Regions from separate parts of the Homo sapiens genome. Here region 1 is linked to region 2. The links are contacts of gene promoters, found by promoter capture Hi-C in human tissues and cell types (Jung and others, 2019). All regions are on one chromosome and are shown on one strand. Each heading gives the region's core, a stretch centred on a gene start or on the middle of the fragment in contact. The rest is flanking DNA. Distances are from core to core; before and after follow the strand shown. Region 1 overlaps CIDEC (cell death inducing DFFA like effector c). Region 2 holds the start of VHL (von Hippel-Lindau tumor suppressor).

Region 1 (3,450 bases), core at 848-3,347, 280 kb after region 2:
GGTCTCAAACTCCTGACCTCAAATGATCCACCCACCTCGGCCACCTAAAGTTATAGGATTACAGGCATGAGCCACCAAGCCCAGCCTTGTGTTTTTTGTTTGATTGTTTTTTGAGACTGAATCTTGCTCTGTCACCCAGGCTGGAGTGCAGTGGTGCCACCTCGGCTCACTGTGACCTCCGCCTCCTGGGTTCAAGCGATTCTCCTGCCTCAGGCTCTGGAGTAACTGGGATTACAGTCACCCACCACTATGCCTGCCTAGTTTTTGTATTTTTAGTAGAGACAGAGATTCGCCATGTTGGCCATGCTAGTCTCAAACTCCTGACCTCAGGTTACCCGCCCTCCATGGCCTCCCAAAGTGCTAGGATTACAGGCGTGAACGCCATGCCCGACCTACTTCGTGGTTTTGACTTGCGTGCCCTCTCATTCCACCCAGGGAAGCTTTCCGCTGGGCCCTCTTCAGCATGCAGGCCACAGGCCACGTACTGCTTGGCACCTCCTGTTACCTGCAGCAGCTCCTCGATGCTACGGAGGAAGGGCAGCCCCCCAAGGGCAAGGCCTCATCCCTTATCCCGACCTGTCTGAAGATACTGCAGTGAAAGCCCAAGTCCTTGGAAGCTTTCCCCAGTGAAGGACTGACTGGGGGCCTCACGCTTAACTGGTAGTGCCCACAAGCCTGGCAGCTGTAGAGCCGCGAACCTCCCCACACCTCCCTCACCGCGCAGGACCCTGAGTGAGGAGGAGGAGCTGGAAACCTGGGGTGGGTTGGCCAAAGGAGAACCTCAAGCTCCTGGCCTGATCCAGCTCCTTCCTGCCCAAGGCAGCTTAGCCCATCCAGACTGGTCCTGAAGTCTGTCCCTCCATTGGCATGAAGTCTGCCCCTTAGCAATCTGGCCTCGCAGGCTGTACTTTCATGGTGCTCTCTACCTTCTGGCCCCCATCCCGGAACATTCCTGAGTGAATTCGCAAGCGCACTAGCATGTGATATTAGGGAGTTTGCAATAAATTATTGAGGCTGATGTATCTTCTTTGCCTGTGTTCTTTGGGGTGGGGTTTTATCTGGAAGGTTGGAGGGGGCTAAAGGAAGAGACGAATCTATTGTCAAAGTATTCTCTTTAATGTAGGATTACAGCTAATGGCACTTTTTCTACCAAAGAAGAAAAAAAAAAACAGCTGGGCACAGTGACACGTGCCTGCAGTCCCAGATACTCAGCAAGCTGGGGTGGAAGCATCCCTTGAGACCAGGAGTTCAAGGCCAGGCTGGAGCACAATAGCAAGACCCCAGGCTCCTTAAAAAACAAAATTGCAGTTGATTTTGAAACTAAAGTCAGCTGAATTTGAGGCTTGAGCTGACCATGTAATTGATACCATAAGTAACAATTTCCTAATTAAATTCACCTATCAGAGGAGCTTCAATTGAGCAGGTGGGATTAAGTCACTCTTCTAATTTCTCAGTGTCCCATTTTATAATAACCGTTTAAGTGGTTAGGTGAAAAAGTACTACTCAAGCTGTAAGGCATTTCTCCATCAATGCCCATCCTAACTTGCCAGACAGCTTATCTTTCATGTTCAGGACTTTCAACCTCGGGATTTCAAAGTGGGCTCATAGGTAGCCCCAAAGAGTAGGAGCTTCTCATCAGTGTGAGCTGGCATTTTCCAGTATTGGACAACTCAAGACAAGCATGAAAGGCTGAACTTAGGCTGGGCATGGTGGCTCACGCCGTAATCCCAGCACTTTGGGAGGCCGAGCCAGGCAGATTACCTGAGGTCAGGAGTTCAAGACCAGCCTGACCAACATGGTGAAACCCGGTTTCTATTAAAAACAAAAAAATTAGCTGGCCAGCATGGCAGGCGCCTGTACTCCCAGCTGTTTGGGAGGCTGAGGCAGTAGAATCGCTTGAACCTGGGAGGCAGAGGTTGTGGTAAGCCAAGATCGTGCCACTGCACTACAGCCTGGGTGACAGAGCGAGACTCCATCTCAAAAAAAAAAAAAAAAGGCTGAACTTGTAGAACTTGTAGGTGACTGTTTTATTTAGTCTGTGACTGAAAGATTTAAAAACTTGGCCAGGTGCAGTGGCTCATGCCGGATATCCCGGCACTTTGGGAGGCTGAGGCAGGAGTATCGCTTGAGGCCAGGAGTTCAAGAGCAGCCTGGGCAACATAGCCAGACCCTGTCTCTACACTAGATAATAAAAAAAAATTAGCAGAGCATGGTGGCTGTAGTCCCAGCTACTCAGGAGCCTGAGGCAGGAGGTTCACTGGAGCCCAGTAGGTCGCGGCTGCAGTGAGCTATGATTGTGCCACTGCACTCCAGCCTGGGCAACAGAGTGAGAGCCTGTCTCTGGGAAAAAAAAAAAAGAGGATTCAAAAACTCTATCACAGCCAGCCGCAGTGGCTCACGCCTGTAATCCCAGCGCTTTGGGAGGCCAAGGCGGGTGGATCACAAGGTCAGGCATTTGAGAGCAGCCTGGCCAACATGGCCAAATCCCGTCTCTACTAAAAGTACAAAATATTGGCCGGGCATGGTGGTGGGCACCTGTAATCTCAGCTACTCGGGGGGCTGAGGCAGGAGAATTGCTTGAACCTGGGAGGTGCAGGTTGCAGTGAGCCGAGATTGTGCCATTGCACTCTAGCCTGGACGACAGAGTGAGACTCCGTCTCAAAAAAGAAACAAACAAACAAAAAACGAAAAACAAAACAAAACCTATTGTTTCACTACTCTTACTATAAAGCCTATTTGGATGTAGTAAATACTAAGGCAAAGGCCTATATTACCAAAGATGGTCTGGGAGCTATTTATGGCAGCGGACCCAAACCCTGCAGCCTATGGGCAAAGCGGCTGAAGCTCGCTGAAGAGGGCCTGCTATTCCGGGCTCTCCTGCTCTTTTGCAGTTATGGCTGGAGGCTGGCCCGGTGCCAGGCTGGCTCCATGGGGTGGGCTGTCTGGCAGGGAGGCCTGATGTTTGTATTAGCACAGAAGCTATCCCAGTCCACCCTTGATGAAGCTGTGGCGGGGCCTACCTGCTCCTTCCGTAAAGTGCTCAGTAACAGAGTTGGAGTGGGGGTGGGAGGCTCGGTATTTGTCCCAAGCTTCCCTCCTCCTGAGATCCGGAGTTTCACAAGTGAATCTTGAGCAACTGCCCATGGTCTCTTGGCATTGAGCCCAGGGAAAACAAGGTTCTTTCTTTTCTTCCAGGAGCTCGAGGCTAATGGAGTCAAAGCAGCTGTGGTCAGTGAACAGAAAAGGCAGCCTCTGATGAGGCTTGGGGGCTGGGGAGGGAAGATTCCAAACAGCAAAGGAGTTTGAGCCTCTGTAGGGCCTGGCGGTCCTAGTGGGGGAACGGCCTTTCCTGGGGCCCCCCGCACAGCCAGGAGCAGCTGTCGTCAAGGTGGACTGTGTCCCAGCCCCTCCAGCTCAGCCTTTTCATCTGTTCAAGCTGGTGCTCGGGAG
Region 2 (3,471 bases), core at 1-2,500:
TCTTACCTAGGGTTGGCTAGTTCCTACTCCATCCTGCTCTCTTCCTTCTCCGGGAAGTGCTCCTTAACTGAAACCACACAACCGCAACCCCTCCATCTCCCAGCAGGCAGGTAAGTCAATTTCCCACGCCACACACGGTCGGCTCTTCCGGCGCCAACATGACCCTGGCTTGTTCCTGTCTTTGCATCTGTCAGTCTCCCCAGGAGGAATGTGTTCTCCACGAGGGCAGGGACTACGCAGAACTGGCCCACTGGAGTCATGAGGACTGAACAGATGGGGTGTTAAGGATGCAGCTTTTCTTTGAGGGGAAAATACACGTGGGGTGGGGGACTGGGGGGAGCCACCTTCAAATGCAAACTATTCGGCCTTATAAAGAATGCTCTGGGCCGGGCGCGGAGGCTCATGCCCATAAGCCCAGCACTTTGGGAGGCCGAGGCGGGCGGATCACGAGGTCAGCAGTTCGAGACCAGCCTGACCAACATGGTGAAACCCCGTCTCTACTAAAAATATAAAAATCAGCCGGGCGCGGTGGCGCACGCCTGTAATCCCAGCTACTCAGGAGGCTGAGGCAGGAGAATCGCTTGAACCCGGGAGGCGGAGGCTGCAGTGAGTCGAGATCGCGCCACTGCACTCCAGCCTGGGCGACAGAGCGAGACTCCGTCTCAGAAAAAAAAAAAAAAAAAAAAGAATGCTCTGACGCTTACGAGCAGCGTCACCCTGGATGTGTCCTGCCTCAAGGGGCCTCAGTTCCCCGTCTGCAAAATGGACCCCGGGGCGGTAGAGGGGCTTCAGACCGTGCTATCGTCCCTGCTGGGTCGGGCCTAAGCGCCGGGCCCGTACCTCGGTAGCTGTGGATGCGGCGGCCCGTGCCAGGCGGCAGCGTTGGGTAGGGCTGCGGCTCGCCGTCGAAGTTGAGCCATACGGGCAGCACGACGCGCGGACTGCGATTGCAGAAGATGACCTGGGAGGGCTCGCGCGAGTTCACCGAGCGCAGCACGGGCCGCGGCCGCCCGGCCTCCATCTCCTCCTCGGCGCCCAGTTCCTCCGGGCCGGACTCTTCCGGGCCGGACTCCTCGGCGCCCGACTCCTCCCCGCCGTCTTCTTCAGGGCCGTACTCTTCGACGCCTGCCTCCTCCGCGCCTACCTCGGCCTCGTCCCAGTTCTCCGCCCTCCGGGGCATTCCCTCCGCGATCCAGACCACCCGGGCCGGACGCCGCGGGATCCGCGGGTCGGACGCGGGGCGGAGCTGCGTGCGCGCTCCCGAGTCGACCTCCGTAGTCTTCGCGCGCGCTCGGTAGAGGATGGAACGCGCTCGCGGAAATAGCCGGCCGGAGGCTGTGCGCGTGCGCAGAAGGATCCTCCAGCACCGTAGGCCGTTGTAACGGAGGCGAGGCTAGGCCAACTCGTTACTGTATTTCCACTATAAAATTTTTTTTCGCCCCTCTAAGGTTTGGTGTTTTTTTTTTTTTTGAGACAGGGTCTCACTCTGTCGCCCGGGCTGGAGTGCAGTGGCGCGAGCTTGGCTCACTGCAGCCTTGACCTCCCTGGCTCAAGCGATCGTCTCGCCTCAGCCTCCCGAGTAGTTGGTACTGTAGGCGCGCACCACCATGCCCGACTAATTATTTTTATTTGTTGTTTGAAACGGAGTCTCGCTATGTTGCCTAGGCTGGTCTCGAACTCCTGGGTTCAAGTGATCCTCCTGCCTTGGCCTCTCAAAGTGCAGGGATTACAGGCCTTAGCCACTGTGCCTGGTGGACTAACTGAATTTTTTTTTTCTTCATGTCAGACGCGCAATGTGCCGACGTCGTAACAAGGTTCGAGGGTGGCGCATCTCACACGGGAACACCCAATCATCACGCTTATAAAGTACAAAAAGTCAACTAACTGAATTCTTACAAGGCATGGGTGATTAGTAAAGAGGGAAAAATAATTAGACCTACTATGTGCAGAGCACTCTGGTGGAAATTGGAAAATCAGATATTTACTTCAGAGCAATTAAAACTACAAACATAAACACTCATTAACTTTGTTCATTTTACAAATATTTATTAAGGCCCTACTATGTACCACCTATGGTGATAAGTGTTGAAAATATTGTAAAAACCGGTCATGTTTCCTGCCTTCACTGCACTTCAATAAAAGCGTCATACGGTAATCAATCACACAAATAAAATAGCAACTATGGCCGGGTGCAGTGGCTCATGCCTGTAATCCCAGTACTTTGGGAGGCTGAAGTGGGCTGATCACAAGGTCAGGAGTTCTAGACCAGCCTGACAACATGGTGAAACCTCGTCTCTACTAAAAATACAAAAATTAGCCTGGCGTGGTGGTGCGCGCATGTAATCCCAGCTACTTAGGAGGCTGAGGCAGGAGAATTGCTTGAACCCGGGAGGCGGAGGTTGCAGTGAGCTGAGATTGTGCTACTGCACTGCAGCCTGGGTGACAGAATGAGACTCTGTCTCAAAAAAAAAAAAAAAAAAAGTGCAACTGTGACTAGTACGACAAAAAGAGACAGGGTACTATAGAAGGCTAAAGATCTGGGGGTCAAGGAAGATGGTACACAATTCTGTGTAATTAAATGTTCAATGATGTGGGATGGACTCAAGTGGAGAAGCAGCTCAGAAAAAGAAGGGTTCAGAGAGTTTTATATTAGTTAAAAATAATTTTTTTTTAGACAGTCTCGCTTTATCACCCAGGCTGGAGTGCAGTGGCTCAGTCTCAGCTCACTGCAACCTCCATCTGCCGAGTTCAAGTGATTATCGTGCCTCAGCCTCTGGAGTAGCTGGGATTACAGGTGTGTGCCACCACACCCAGGTAATTTTTGTACTTTTAGTAGAGACGGGGTTTCACCATGTTTGCCAGGCTGGTCTTGAACTCCTCACCTCAGGTAATCTGCCTGCCTTGGTTTTCCCAAGTGCTGGGATTACAGGTGTGAGCCACCGTGCCCAGCTCAAAAATAAATTTCAAGTAGAAAGAAAAAAATCTATCAAGTGCCAGACACTGTGCTAAGCATCCCACGTGAATTAAGGCTATGTCATTATCTCCATTTCACAGCTAAGGAAACAGAAGGGTATATAAGAATGTGAAGGCCTAGCACTATACGCCTGTAATCCCGAGATTTTGGGAGCCCAAGGCAGGTGGATCACTTGAGTTCAGGAGTTGGAACCAGCCTGGGCAACATAGCGAGGTCCTGTCTCTATAAAAAATGAAAGAATTAGCCAGGCATAGTGGCGTGCACCTGTAGTCCCAGCTACTCAGGAGGCTGAAGCAGGAGGATCACTTGAGCCTGGGAGGTTGAGGCTGCAGTAAGCCGTGATCATGCCACTGCACTCCAGCCTGGGCAACAGAGCCAGACTCTGTCTCAGAAAAAAAAAAAAATGTGAAAAGGGTAGTCAAAATGCTGGATCAGAGAGGCTCATCACCTGATGCCTTAGGAGAAAATGACAGTATGAGTGAACCTCAGGAGTTGGA

What was found. The method cuts DNA at HindIII sites, captures the fragments that hold promoters and counts their contacts. A contact is called where the count stands out against the background at its distance.
Region 1: a contact is called between a fragment that was not itself captured here and the fragment with the promoter of VHL in region 2, in 2 of the 25 tissues and cell types used here (dorsolateral prefrontal cortex and hippocampus).

What each region holds. Positions count from the first base shown.
Region 1 is chr3:9,864,282-9,867,731 of GRCh38, reverse strand. CIDEC (cell death inducing DFFA like effector c) reads left to right here. Exons shown (of 7, transcript NM_001321142.2): 7 at 436-1,018. The coding sequence ends at 598. Among named protein-coding and RNA genes, the nearest start is that of CIDEC, 14 kb to the left of the region's middle. RefSeq lists a silencer at 3,353-3,450. The HindIII fragment of the contact is 3,135 bases long and covers 530-3,450 here.
Region 2 is chr3:10,139,557-10,143,027 of GRCh38, reverse strand. VHL (von Hippel-Lindau tumor suppressor) reads right to left here and starts at 1,250. Exons shown (of 3, transcript NM_000551.4): 1 at 841-1,250. The coding sequence starts at 1,180. It also overlaps the pseudogene LOC124906359. RefSeq lists an enhancer at 1-333. The HindIII fragment of the contact is 25,425 bases long and covers 1-3,471 here.